Linked DNA regions of Homo sapiens: all the other regions are linked to region 2. The links are contacts of gene promoters, found by promoter capture Hi-C in human tissues and cell types (Jung and others, 2019). All regions are on one chromosome and are shown on one strand. The core of a region is centred on a gene start or on the middle of the fragment in contact, and the rest is flanking DNA. Distances in the headings are between cores, read along the strand shown. Region 1 holds the start of ZNF346 (zinc finger protein 346). Region 2 holds the start of SNCB (synuclein beta). Region 3 overlaps ZNF346 (zinc finger protein 346). Region 4 holds the start of HK3 (hexokinase 3).

Region 1 (2,700 bases), core at 23-2,522, 390 kb before region 2:
GACTTGTTTTTAAATTGGAGAAGTATATACCAGGGTATAGGTCTGTGTACCTTCCTTAGATATGGTCAAAATTTCAATTTTATCCAATTTTATCCAGGGCAGTCAGTTCACAAATAGCATATTAAACTTTCGAAGACAAGTCTGCTCAGCAAGCAAACAAATCACTGGAGAAATCTGATTTCCCTCCAGATACCTGACAAGGTTAGCAGAGAAGCCCAGATAGAGTTCTTGTACATCTGGGTTAGCATCAAGCAGCTGGCTCTGTAAAGGACAGTGAAGGGAGTCACACAAGCAGGTCAGGACAGCTCTTTTCCATCCTTCTCTTTCTTTCATCCCATCTTACCCAGTCTCAGGTCAAGTGCAGAGCAAGCTGGGGCGCTTCGGCCCAGGAGTGACCCCTAACGTGGCTTTGCATACACTGTTCTCAGCAACTTTGGGTCAAGTGTAGGACACAAAGAAGCTGGAGCCAAAGCAAACCCAGACCAGTTTCTCAGGCTCCTTGTCCCCACCTTAGAATAAGGGACCCAGCAAGTAGAGGCCAGAGAGCTAAAAACGGGTAAGCCAGGGCTCAGTCATCAAGACCAGGAGGAACCCAGGGGGTAAGGAGAAGGCCTTCCAGAGCCCTCGGAAGTGTGGGGCTTGAGAGAAGGGAGGCGAGAGGCCCTAGGAGGAAATCTGGAGATTGGGACGATGGGGAGTCAAGGAGTGGTGAGGGGCACTCGGCTTGGCTTACCGGGATGGCAAAGACTGTAGGTCTCCGACAGGACGAGTATAGGGATGACAGTCCTCGAATGTGGGAAAAACTGCGCTGTAGTGAATGATGAAGGAGGAGGAGGAAAACCCAGGGCCTGAGCGTGAGCGGCCCTTCACCCTCAGCGCGCTGGGGGCCCGATTCTTGGGGTGCCCGCGCCCGGATGGGGAGCACAAGTCTGGGGGTCCCGGGGCGCAGCACGCAAGGAGGCGGGCCAGGGGGTGTGACCGTCGGCGCTTCCGCAGTTCCCCGCGAGCCGCGCAGCGGGCGAGGGGCTTTCTGCCTCCAAAGCCCCCGACTCACCTTCCTCTCTACCCACCGGCTGGGCACCGGACACGGCTTCCCACAGGCGGCGCGCCCTCTCGCGGTCAAAGCGCACCCCGTCCGGCTCCTGGCCCTCCAGCAACTCCGAGCTGCTGTAAGGCCCGGCCGCTCCGCCGTCCGCGGCCTGCACCGTGGCCGGCGCGGGATACTCCATCTTCCCCGCAAACCCTCACCGGTAGAGAGCCTCTCAGGCGCCTAGGTATCGCGAGATTTGGTGGGTGGTACTTGGCCCAGCCAACAAATCTCGCGAGGTTTGGGCGCTGCACCCGCGCTGCCGTGCGGGACCCCGCGCTTATTTTGCTTTGCTACCTCTGGTACCTCAGAGCGTGTGCCGTGGATTCGGAAACCTGTCGCTGATTCCGCAGCAGTGACCCCCCCCTCCCGGAGAGGCTCGTGTGGTTTTGGCTCATGGCTCTCACCTTGCTCACGGTCAGCCCTTGATACTTTTCATTTCGTTCTCAAGGTCCCGTTATGTGGGAGTGTTTTCGCCATTTCATTCACAGGGAAACTGAGGCCCAGAACCTAAAAATGGTTAACTCAAGAGCTCGCTACTAGTAAGTAGTAGTACAGCTAAGGTTCCATATTACTGCTAATAATACATACTATTTGTTGAGTTCCAAGTGCCAGCTCCCAGCTCTGATCTTCCCCGAGACTCCGGACCTGTATACATCCAGTTGCCTCTTCCACAGTTCACTCGAATGGCTAATAGGCTTCTCCAATGTAGCTGTCAGACCCCAAATTTTATCTTCCAACCCCAGAGCTGCTCCTTCCCGTGTCTTTGGGAGCCACCATCTCTTGCCTAGGTTATTGTAGTAGCAACCTCACTGGCATTCCCAGCACAGCAGTTCCAGGAATCCTCTTATGACAAGTCAGATCATGACGCTTAGGTTCTCAAATCCTCCAACAGCTTCCCATCTCACTCTTAGTAAAAGCCAAAGTCCGGCCAGGCGCGGTGGCTCACGCCTGTAATCCCAGCACTTTGGGAGGCTAAGGGGGGGCGGATCACCTGAGGTCCGGAGTTCGAGACCAGCCTGACCAACATGGAGAAACCCCGTCTCTACTAAAAATACAAAATTAGACGGGTGTGGTGGCACATGCCTGTAATCCCATCTACTCGGAGGCTGAGCCAGGAGAATGGCTTGAACCCGGGAGGCAGAGGTTGCTGTGAGCCGAGCTGGCGCCATTGCACCCCAGCCTGGGCAACAAGAGCGAAACTCCGACTAAAAAAAAAAAAAGCCAAAGTCCTTACTTCGACCAACAAGGCCCTGTACAATCTGACTTCCCTTAACCTCCCTGATCCTGATGTGTTACTCAGTCCCCAACTCCTTAATTCCTGTCCCAGTTATCCAGGCCTCCTGGGGTGAATTTCTCTCATATATCTTCATGGCTCAGTCTCCCACTTCCTTCTCTGGCTACTCTATCTAAAATACCTTGTCTGGCTATCCCATCTAAAATGTTACTTTTCCACACACACTTCATGTCCTTCTTTCCTGCTTTATTTCTTTTATATTTTACCTTTTATCTTGCTTATTGTCTGTCTCCCGACTAGAAGGCAAGCCCCAGGAAGGCAGGGATTTTTGTCTCTTTTCTTTTCTTTCTTTTTTTAAATTGTTTTTGAGGCAGAG
Region 2 (2,768 bases), core at 172-2,671:
ATGTGCCACAGTTAGCTAGCCAGTCCTGTACAGATGATCATTTAGATCATTTTCAGTTTTTTGCTACAAAAAAACATGCTACAGTGAACATCCTTGCACAGGTATCTTTGTGTGCATGTATGGCTAGAGTCGCACGGGATCAATTCCTGGAAGGGGAGCTGTTGGCTCCAAAGGCGCATGCATTTATGCTTGGTAAACATTGCCAGATTGCCTTCCAAAATGTCTGCGCCAATTTGCAGTTCTACCAGCGGCCTGTGAATGTTTTTTGTTTGGTTGGTTGGGTTTTTTCCTTTTTTTTTTTTTTTGCAGTCTGGCTGCTGGTGGCCCCCTCGCCTAATTACCTGTCACTTACACACCCTGCATTTCTGGCCACAGTGCCTTTGCCCATGCTGTACCCACAGCCTAAAATTCTCTTTCTCCCTAGCCTGCTCGATGAAATAGTCCCCTTCCTGTCAGGCCACAGTTCAGTTGTCACCTCTTTTTTATGTCCTTTCCTGACTCCCCTAAGTTGTCAGAGTCCCTTTCCTCTGGGATACTACAGCTTCTTGGGCATAATTCTATCATAGAACCAACTGAGGGCCTACTGTGTGCCTGGCATTCTGTGATCATTTTGACAGTCCCCACCGTAAGCACACAAAAAAGTGGTTTTGTTCTCCACCTCCCTCCATCCTGGCTCTCCAGCTGCGCTGTCTTTTGTCAGCACAGTCCTGCCTTGGAGCCTTTGCACTTGCACTCTCTATGGATCTTGTCCTCACCCATCGTGGTGTCATGGTGCCTCTCTGGAGTCTCTGCTACAATTCACCTGCTGGTAGAGGCCTTCCCTGAGCACCCTGTCTCAAGCACCCCTCCTCTAGTCCCCGTGTTACATCACCGTTACCTTCACAACTTACAAGCTGTAATGACCTTGTTGCTTTGGATGTTGATCCGTTTATTTTCTGTCCTGTCTTCCACCACTGAGCGCACGAACACACACGCGTACAGACACCCCCATGGTAAGCTTCCCGAGACCAGGAACCTTGTTTTCCTTTTCCGCTGCCTCCAGCCTTAAACCTGCACCACTGGACTAAGCGCTCAGTAAACATTCGTTGAATTAACCATTCCTGTTTTACAGAGGAGGAAACTGTCATTCAGAAAGGAGAGCCGAGTAGCTCAAGGTCCCACGGTTAATAAAAAGCACAGCTGAGATTCGAGCCCAGCAGAACTCCAAATCCAGTCGCGTGATTTCTTCCCCACTCTTCACACGCCGCGTTGTCCCCCTCCCTCAACTCCCAACAGACTACGCGAGTCTTACGGCCGGGGCCCCCAGGGGCGCGTCCCGGGCCCGCCCCGGGAGGCTCATCGGCTACGCGCTGTCACCCTCCCCGCCCCCTGTCAGTCAGGCCGAAGGGGCGGCGCGGCCGCCAGCGGGGGCGCTGAGCTCAGAGCTGCCGCAGCGCCGGAGCCGGAGCCGGAGCCGGAGCGCGCGAGCTCGCAGGGCGCGAGGAACGAGCGGTGGCTGGCTACGCACCCGAGACCCGGGCACTGCTGCGCTCCTGCTCAGGACCCGCGACCCGAGCGCCTGATCCCGGCCCTATCCCCCCTCCGGCCCCTGGTCCACCCCGGCCTGGCCTAGCGGAGCCCCCGCGTCCGCCCGCCGCAGCCGCCGCTCCATCCCCAGCCCCGGCCCCGCATCCAGGTGAGGCGGCCGCGCGCCGGGGATGGGGAACGGGATGAGGATGGAGAGGGGACTGGGGCGACAGGAGGGAGCTGGGGAAGGGGATGGAAAATGGAGGGAGACCCGGGGGATGCGCGTCAGTGTGCACCCCGGAGTATGTGAGTATGCTCCGGTGTTTGCAGCTGCCCGGGCGGCTGTGGGGACGTGTGTCCGCGCCCATGTGGGTCGGGGTATTCGTGCGCGTTGGAGCGTCTGCGTGTCCTGTGTGTGCACGTGAGCTTGTCCGTGGTGTATGTTTGTGTGCATGACCGTGTGACTGTGCCGTGCGTGTACAGGCGGGTCCTGGATATTCGCGCCGAACCCAGCACTCCGGTTCGACGGGGCTGCAGTTTGCAGGGCCCGGATAACCGAGGCAGTGGCCCCTCCCGCGTCCCCAGGTTTCAAGGACGCTAGGACTCTCCGCGGCCCTGAGGCTTCGCACTGGGGAGTGGGGTGGGATGGGGGGAAAGCGGGAGGGGGCTCAGGGTCCAGAAGGGCGCCGCGGTCTCGGGAGTAGGGGGGCATCTGCGTCCCGCGGGAGGGGCTGGGGTGAGAGTGCGGGGCCAGTGCACCGGTGCCCGTGTATCGCCCTCCCCAGGCCGCCAGGATGGACGTGTTCATGAAGGGCCTGTCCATGGCCAAGGAGGGCGTTGTGGCAGCCGCGGAGAAAACCAAGCAGGGGGTCACCGAGGCGGCGGAGAAGACCAAGGAGGGCGTCCTCTACGTCGGTGGGTAAGGGGCGGGGTTTCTGGGGCTGCAGGGCTGGGGGTCCCCCGACAGTGTGGAGCTGGGGCCGGGTCCCGGGGAGGGGGGTTCTGGGCAGGAGAATATGAGTCAGCAGATGGGGCGAGGTCAGCAGGGGTCATAGGGGACATAGCCAGCCCATAGAAGCCTGGGTCTGTATCCGGAAATGGGGACACGGGGCGGGCTGATGAGGTGGGGGGCTCCAGCTGAAAGGCCAGGGACCAGTGCAGTGATGAAAGCAGACAGCCTCCTTTTTCTTATCTTTTTTACCATTATTAATAGTTATCTGGTGTTGAACACTTTCTGTATGCCAAGTACTGGGTAAAATGTC
Region 3 (2,702 bases), core at 70-2,569, 410 kb before region 2:
GTTCTTCTGGATCATGTGCTCCACTATAGAGGGGAAAACAAGAAATCATTGAGTTGACAAACACTACCTCAACAGCACTGCCTTTGAACCCTGCCTCAAACACAGGCACTGAATGATGGGATGCCATACTAGGACACTGGCAGACCTCAGCCAGCCTTTCCTACTGCCACCGTGACTCATGCTGTGTTCTCACACCACCTACACTATTACTTATTTTATAATTTTATGTATGCCAACTTTCTTTACTTAGGAACTTCTTTTAAAAAGGAATCTTTAGATCATAAACTTAAGCAGATACCAATAAAAATAAATATGATAAAAATGAGGCTTGGAGCATTCCCCAGGAAGAAGAGAACAGCAACTGTGCTGAGAGGTTTTAAGATATGGTAGCACCCAACTGAAACTTCTTCCCAGATAGAATCAGGAGGACTGAAAGACTCGAAAAAGGAATACTTTTCTCATTGTTCTTGATCTGACTTTGAAACATTTAAAATCACATAACAGGGTGGGGCGTGGTGGCTCACGCCTGTAATCCTAGCACTTTGGGAGGCCGAGGTGGGCAGATCACCTGAGATCAGGAGTTCGAGACCAGCCTGGCCAACATGGTGAAACCCTGTCTCTACTAAAAATACAAAAATTAGCCAGGTGTGGTGGCAGGCACCTATAATCCCAGCTACTCGGGAGGCTGAGGCAGGAGAATTGTTTGAACCCAGGAGGCAGAGGTTGTAGTGAGCTGAGGTTGTGCCACTAACTCCAACTTGGGTGACAGAGCTAGACTCTGTCTCTAAATAAATAAATAAAATAAAATCACATAACGTATTATATAAGTGCCACACTATATGAAACATGGTATTAACCTGTGCTTAAATTATTGTGCCTGGAGAACAGTCTTACCTTTTTGAGAAGAGAAGAGGAGGTAAAATCTCTCCCAAGGCATAAGTTCATTTTTGTTTGTTTTTTTTTTTTTTGAGAGGGAGTCTCGCTCTGTCACCCAGGCTGGAGTGCAGTGGCATGATGTCGGCTCACTGCAAGCTCCGCCTCCCAAGTTCACACCATTCTCCTGCCTCAGCCTCCCGAGTAGTTGGGATTACAGGCACCCACCACCACGCCCAACTAATTTTTTTGTATTTTTAGTAGAGACGGGGTTTCATCGTGTTAGCCAGGATGGTCTCGATCTCCTGACCTCGTGATCCACCCACCTTGGCCTTCCAAAGTGCTGGGATTACAGGCGTGAGCCACCGCGCCCGGCCAAGGCATGAGTTCTATCATGGCGCTGGCAATGTGAGGCAGAGGCAGAGGCAGAGTCTAAAACTGGGAGAGGAGGGCAGGCCCACATTTTTAATCTCCTGGTCTCAGCCAAAAAGTGGTCAAGGCTAGGCACAGTGGCTCACACCTGTAATCCCAGCATTTTGGGAGGCTGAGGTGGGAGGATGGGTTGAGCCCAGGAGTTTGAGACCAGCCTGGGCAAGATGGTGAGACTCTGTCTCTACATAGAAACAAACACACCAACAAACCAAAAACTAGCCGGGGGTGGTGGCACATGCCTGTGGTTCCAGCTTCATGGGAGGCTAAGGCTGAGACAGAGACAGAAGGATTGCTTGAGCTCAGGAGGTCAAGGCTATGGCAAGCCATGTTAGTGCCACTGTACTCCAGCCTGGATAACAGAGCAAGCCCCTGTCTTAAAAAAAAAAAAGTCGATGCCCTGGAAGAGGTTCTTGGTGGGGAGCTTTTAAGATGTCTCTCCTTAATCCACAAAATCTAAAGCTTACCTATGTCAGCCCTTTTAGGCAGAAGGGCTGTATTTCTGCCCCTAATGATCTCTTTTTATTTCTGCATTTTTCTTTTAAATGGTAAATTTTTGTGAAAGACCTTGCCTGTCTTAGCTATGCTCTGAAAAACCAAGAGAAATGACTCTATAAACAAAATTGGCCCAGAACTTTTAAAAGAGGGTCAGAGGTGGCCAGGCACGATTGGTAATGCCTGTAATCTTAGCACTTTGGGAGGCCAAGGTGGGTGGATCATCTGAGGTCAGGAGTTTGAGACCAGCCTGGCCAACATGGTAAAACCCCATCTCTACTAAAAATACAAAACTAGCCGGGTGTGGTGAAGCATGCCTGTAATCCCTGCTACTTGGGAGACAGAGGCAGGACAATCACTTGAACCTGGGAGGCAGAGGTTGCAGTGAGCCGAGATTGTGCCATTGCACTCCAGCCTGAGCAACAGCAAAACTCGGACACACACACACACACACACACACACACACACACACACAAGAAGAAGAAGAAAAAAGAAGAAAAAAAAGAGGGTCAGAGGCTTCTCACAATAAGAAACCCACATGGGGAAGGTAATACCCAGGGGTCAGAGTTCAGTCATCACTTCCTCACCTGGAGATTGTGGATTTTGTTTTGTTCAAGAGATGAGGTTTCAAGCATATTCAGAATCAGACTCCCAAACCCACAGCAAGGGCAGGTAAGCACCTGCTAAATAAATGTACCTCTCTGCTGGAATGCACTCTCTGGCCTTAGAGAGTACATTCACATAGTCCACACAAATATATTTATAATACGTGCTTTGTGTCAACACTGCACTTAGTGCTGGGGGCCATACCAACAAAGAAGATGGGGTATAAAGTAAAAAATAAGCAAGACAATGACAGAGAATTAGAAATGCTATGAAAACAAGCAGAGTACGGGGTAGAGAAT
Region 4 (2,700 bases), core at 26-2,525, 270 kb before region 2:
TGGCATTCTGACTAGGGAACCAGGACCCCTGCTCCTGGGGTCTGGACACAGACCTTCCAGAAACGCAGATGAAGAGCCCTGGCCATGCTTGTCAGGGGCATATCCTCACCCTGGCTCAAGAAATGGCAGGCTATCTGCATGAATCACAGCTGGGCCTTTCATAGTCAGTTCCACATTCTCCTCTCCCAACTGAACAAAGTTGAAAGGGACTGGGATCCCAGGCTAGGCAGGATGCTGTGTTGTTTGTGACAGCCACTCTACCCTCTGCCACCCCATCCCCCACTTCCCTGCCTTTCACAGCCTATATGCCTGGTTGGTACCCAGTAAACTTCACAGCAGGACTGATGTTTGGCATGTTTCCTGGCCTCTTCATGCCACTACTGATAGAGGAGCCACTATCTCTGGTCTCCATCCTGATGTCATGTGGAGGCCTACTATCTGTGGATAGAGTTACTGCTGACAAGGCAGCCTGAAGCTTTAAAGTGTATCCATGCCTTCAACAAAGATTGTTGCAGGCTGTCTAGTATTCTACATTGGTGCCCCAAGGTTCTGTGCCTTTGAGGAGAAATTCCCACAGAAAAACAGCTTGTTCGCCAATAGCTCCACAGCAGCCTAACACTCCCCTTCTTCCAGTAGAGAAGACCTAAGATGTGAACCTACTCTCCCTGCGCAGGCTACAGACTAAAGGCTAGACTCCGCAGTCTGCCTGTCACCTCCTCTCCCACTATATATTCCTACCTTGGTGTACCCTCTTCAGGCGCCTGGAGCTGCACCTCATTGCTGTGTGTGTGTGATTTGTGGTTGTGCACATGCTCTCCACTTTGTCAAGGACCACTTTTGTCAGCATACTGCTGTTCTTTCTTCAAGACTCAGCTTCTTCAGCTAGCCCTGCCCACTCTCGGCAGAGTCAGTCCCTTCCGCTTGTGCTCCCACATTGCCTCTTGCTCAAAAGTACTTACCATAACCTTTCCAGGCTAGGCGCCTCCAGCTCCTTCTAGGGGCGAGCCACCACCTCAGAACTCACTATATTTGCAAAATAAACAGCCCTCAGCATTGTAGAGGGAATGGCCCAAAATCTTAGACCCAGTTCAACGCTCCACTTCGCGGTAATCATCTTGCTCAAGTTTTCACCACAGCCTTGCCTAGCCTGGGCTACTCTTAGGGCAGGCTTGGAAGGAAGTGCAGCTTCCTGAATTAGCTGATGTTTGGTAAGTGGTGGTGGAGGAAAAGGGTGGGGCTTGAGGATATTATAACTCGGGTCACCCCTGAGTGTTGCTTTTGGTCATTGGGGTGCCTCATATTGCCAGACAAGAGCTCAGACCTGAGGAGAGTGACTAGCTTCTCTGTGTCCCAGGTAAGCACTTCGGTCTAATTACTGCCTGCTCCTTCCACAGCTGTCTTGTCCTCATCCCTCCTGTTTGGCTCACACCAGGGGAAGTGGACACTGGAAAGATTAAGCCAGCTGGTTCTCTTTCTTTGTTTTTGAGATGGGGTCTCTCTCTCTATCACCCAGACTGGAGTACAGTGGCACAGTCAGGGCTCACTCCAGCCTTGACCTCCTGGGTTCAAGTGATCCTCCCACCTCAGCCTCCGGAGTAGCTGAGACTACAGGCGCACACCACCACACCCAGCTAATTTTTGTTATTTTTTTCTAGCGATGGCGTTTTGCCATGTTGCCCAGGCTAGTCTCACATTCCTGGGCTCAAGCAGTCTGTCTGCCTCAGCCTCCCAAAGTGCTGGGATTACAGGTGCAAGCCACCACACCCAGCCTGCCAGCTGGTTCTCGATGGCAGCTCCCAACATCAGTAGAGGTCCCTGGGGTACTTTTCAGGAGGAAAACTCACTTCGTGTAGCCCATTCAGCTAAGGGAAGCCACGGGGCCCTTAGGCAAACAGACCCTGGGCTCTGGGGATACTGCAGTGAAGGAGACATGTCCCTCCCCACAGGGAATCTCAGTGGGAAGAGACAGAGCTGAATACATTTACCTAGCATATAAATATTAGGGCTACTTGGGGATTGCTTCACAGATTCTGTCATGTAAAAATGCTGAATAAATATTGAATGGATGAGGGAATGAATGAGTGAGTGAATGAATAAATGAACTAGCTGGGCCTTGAGAAAGACACGTGTGTAGCCCTTAGTCCTTTTCGAAGGTAATTGCCCCAGTTACCTCATTTTATCCTTGAAATAGACCTGCAGCATAGAACAAGAATTCCACACCCCTATTTGACAGATTTGGAAACTCAGCATAGGTATGTATGGTTTGGGGAGATTTATCAGAAGCTGATTTGTTGCTTTATTAAATAAAAAACTACCCACTCCCCTTGCTTCCAATTTTGGAAAGGCACATTAGCACATACCTATACCAGACCCTGTGCCGGCCATGAGTGCAGAGGTGATCAAGTTGGGTGGGGTAAGGAGGTGAAGAAACTAGAAGCAGAGCTATCAGTTTAGGAGGCTGTTGTAATAATCAGGCCGGAGGATGGTCTGGTGCAGTGTGTGGGAATGGGGAGGAGGGGATGCAGAGGAGAGCTCTTAGAGAGCCTGAGATCCAATTGCATAGAGGAGGTGAGGGTGAGGGATGCGCGCAGGCAGCCCGAACGGCCGTGTGAGTGAGCACACTTCGATGTCTCCAGTCAAGGTGGAGAACAGAAGAGCTTTGTGGGGGTAAGGTGATGGAAAAATGAGTATGGCTTTGTT

What was found. The method cuts DNA at HindIII sites, captures the fragments that hold promoters and counts their contacts. A contact is called where the count stands out against the background at its distance.
Region 1: the fragment with the promoter of ZNF346 here is called in contact with the fragment with the promoter of SNCB in region 2 in 2 of the 25 tissues and cell types used here (heart left ventricle and mesenchymal stem cells).
Region 3: a contact is called between a fragment that was not itself captured here and the fragment with the promoter of SNCB in region 2, in 1 of the 25 tissues and cell types used here (dorsolateral prefrontal cortex).
Region 4: a contact is called between the fragment with the promoter of HK3 here and the fragment with the promoter of SNCB in region 2, in 2 of the 25 tissues and cell types used here (IMR-90 fibroblasts and mesendoderm cells).

What each region holds. Positions count from the first base shown.
Region 1 is chr5:177,021,268-177,023,967 of GRCh38, reverse strand. It overlaps ZNF346 (zinc finger protein 346), which reads right to left and starts at 1,272. Exons shown (of 7, transcript NM_012279.4): 1 at 1,055-1,272. The coding sequence starts at 1,229. It also overlaps a transcript of UIMC1 not described here. RefSeq lists enhancers at 494-1,030, 1,458-1,507, 1,031-1,568 and a silencer at 908-1,057. The HindIII fragment of the contact is 9,260 bases long and covers 1-2,700 here.
Region 2 is chr5:176,629,187-176,631,954 of GRCh38, reverse strand. It overlaps SNCB (synuclein beta), which reads left to right and starts at 1,421. Exons shown (of 6, transcript NM_003085.5): 1 at 1,421-1,675; 2 at 2,292-2,421. The coding sequence starts at 2,301. EIF4E1B (eukaryotic translation initiation factor 4E family member 1B) reads right to left here and starts at 1,280. Exons shown (of 9, transcript NM_001099408.2): 1 at 891-1,280. It overlaps MIR4281 (microRNA 4281), which reads left to right and starts at 2,455; the gene lies at 2,455-2,516. RefSeq lists a silencer at 1,240-1,509. The HindIII fragment of the contact is 9,216 bases long and covers 1-2,768 here.
Region 3 is chr5:177,038,447-177,041,148 of GRCh38, reverse strand. It overlaps ZNF346 (zinc finger protein 346), which reads right to left. Exons shown (of 7, transcript NM_012279.4): 2 at 1-23. Among named protein-coding and RNA genes, the nearest start is that of ZNF346, 17 kb to the right of the region's middle. RefSeq lists a silencer at 2,410-2,459. The HindIII fragment of the contact is 3,815 bases long and covers 1-2,702 here.
Region 4 is chr5:176,897,921-176,900,620 of GRCh38, reverse strand. It overlaps HK3 (hexokinase 3), which reads left to right and starts at 1,275. Exons shown (of 19, transcript NM_002115.3): 1 at 1,275-1,354. RefSeq lists an enhancer at 1-455. The HindIII fragment of the contact is 11,300 bases long and covers 1-2,700 here.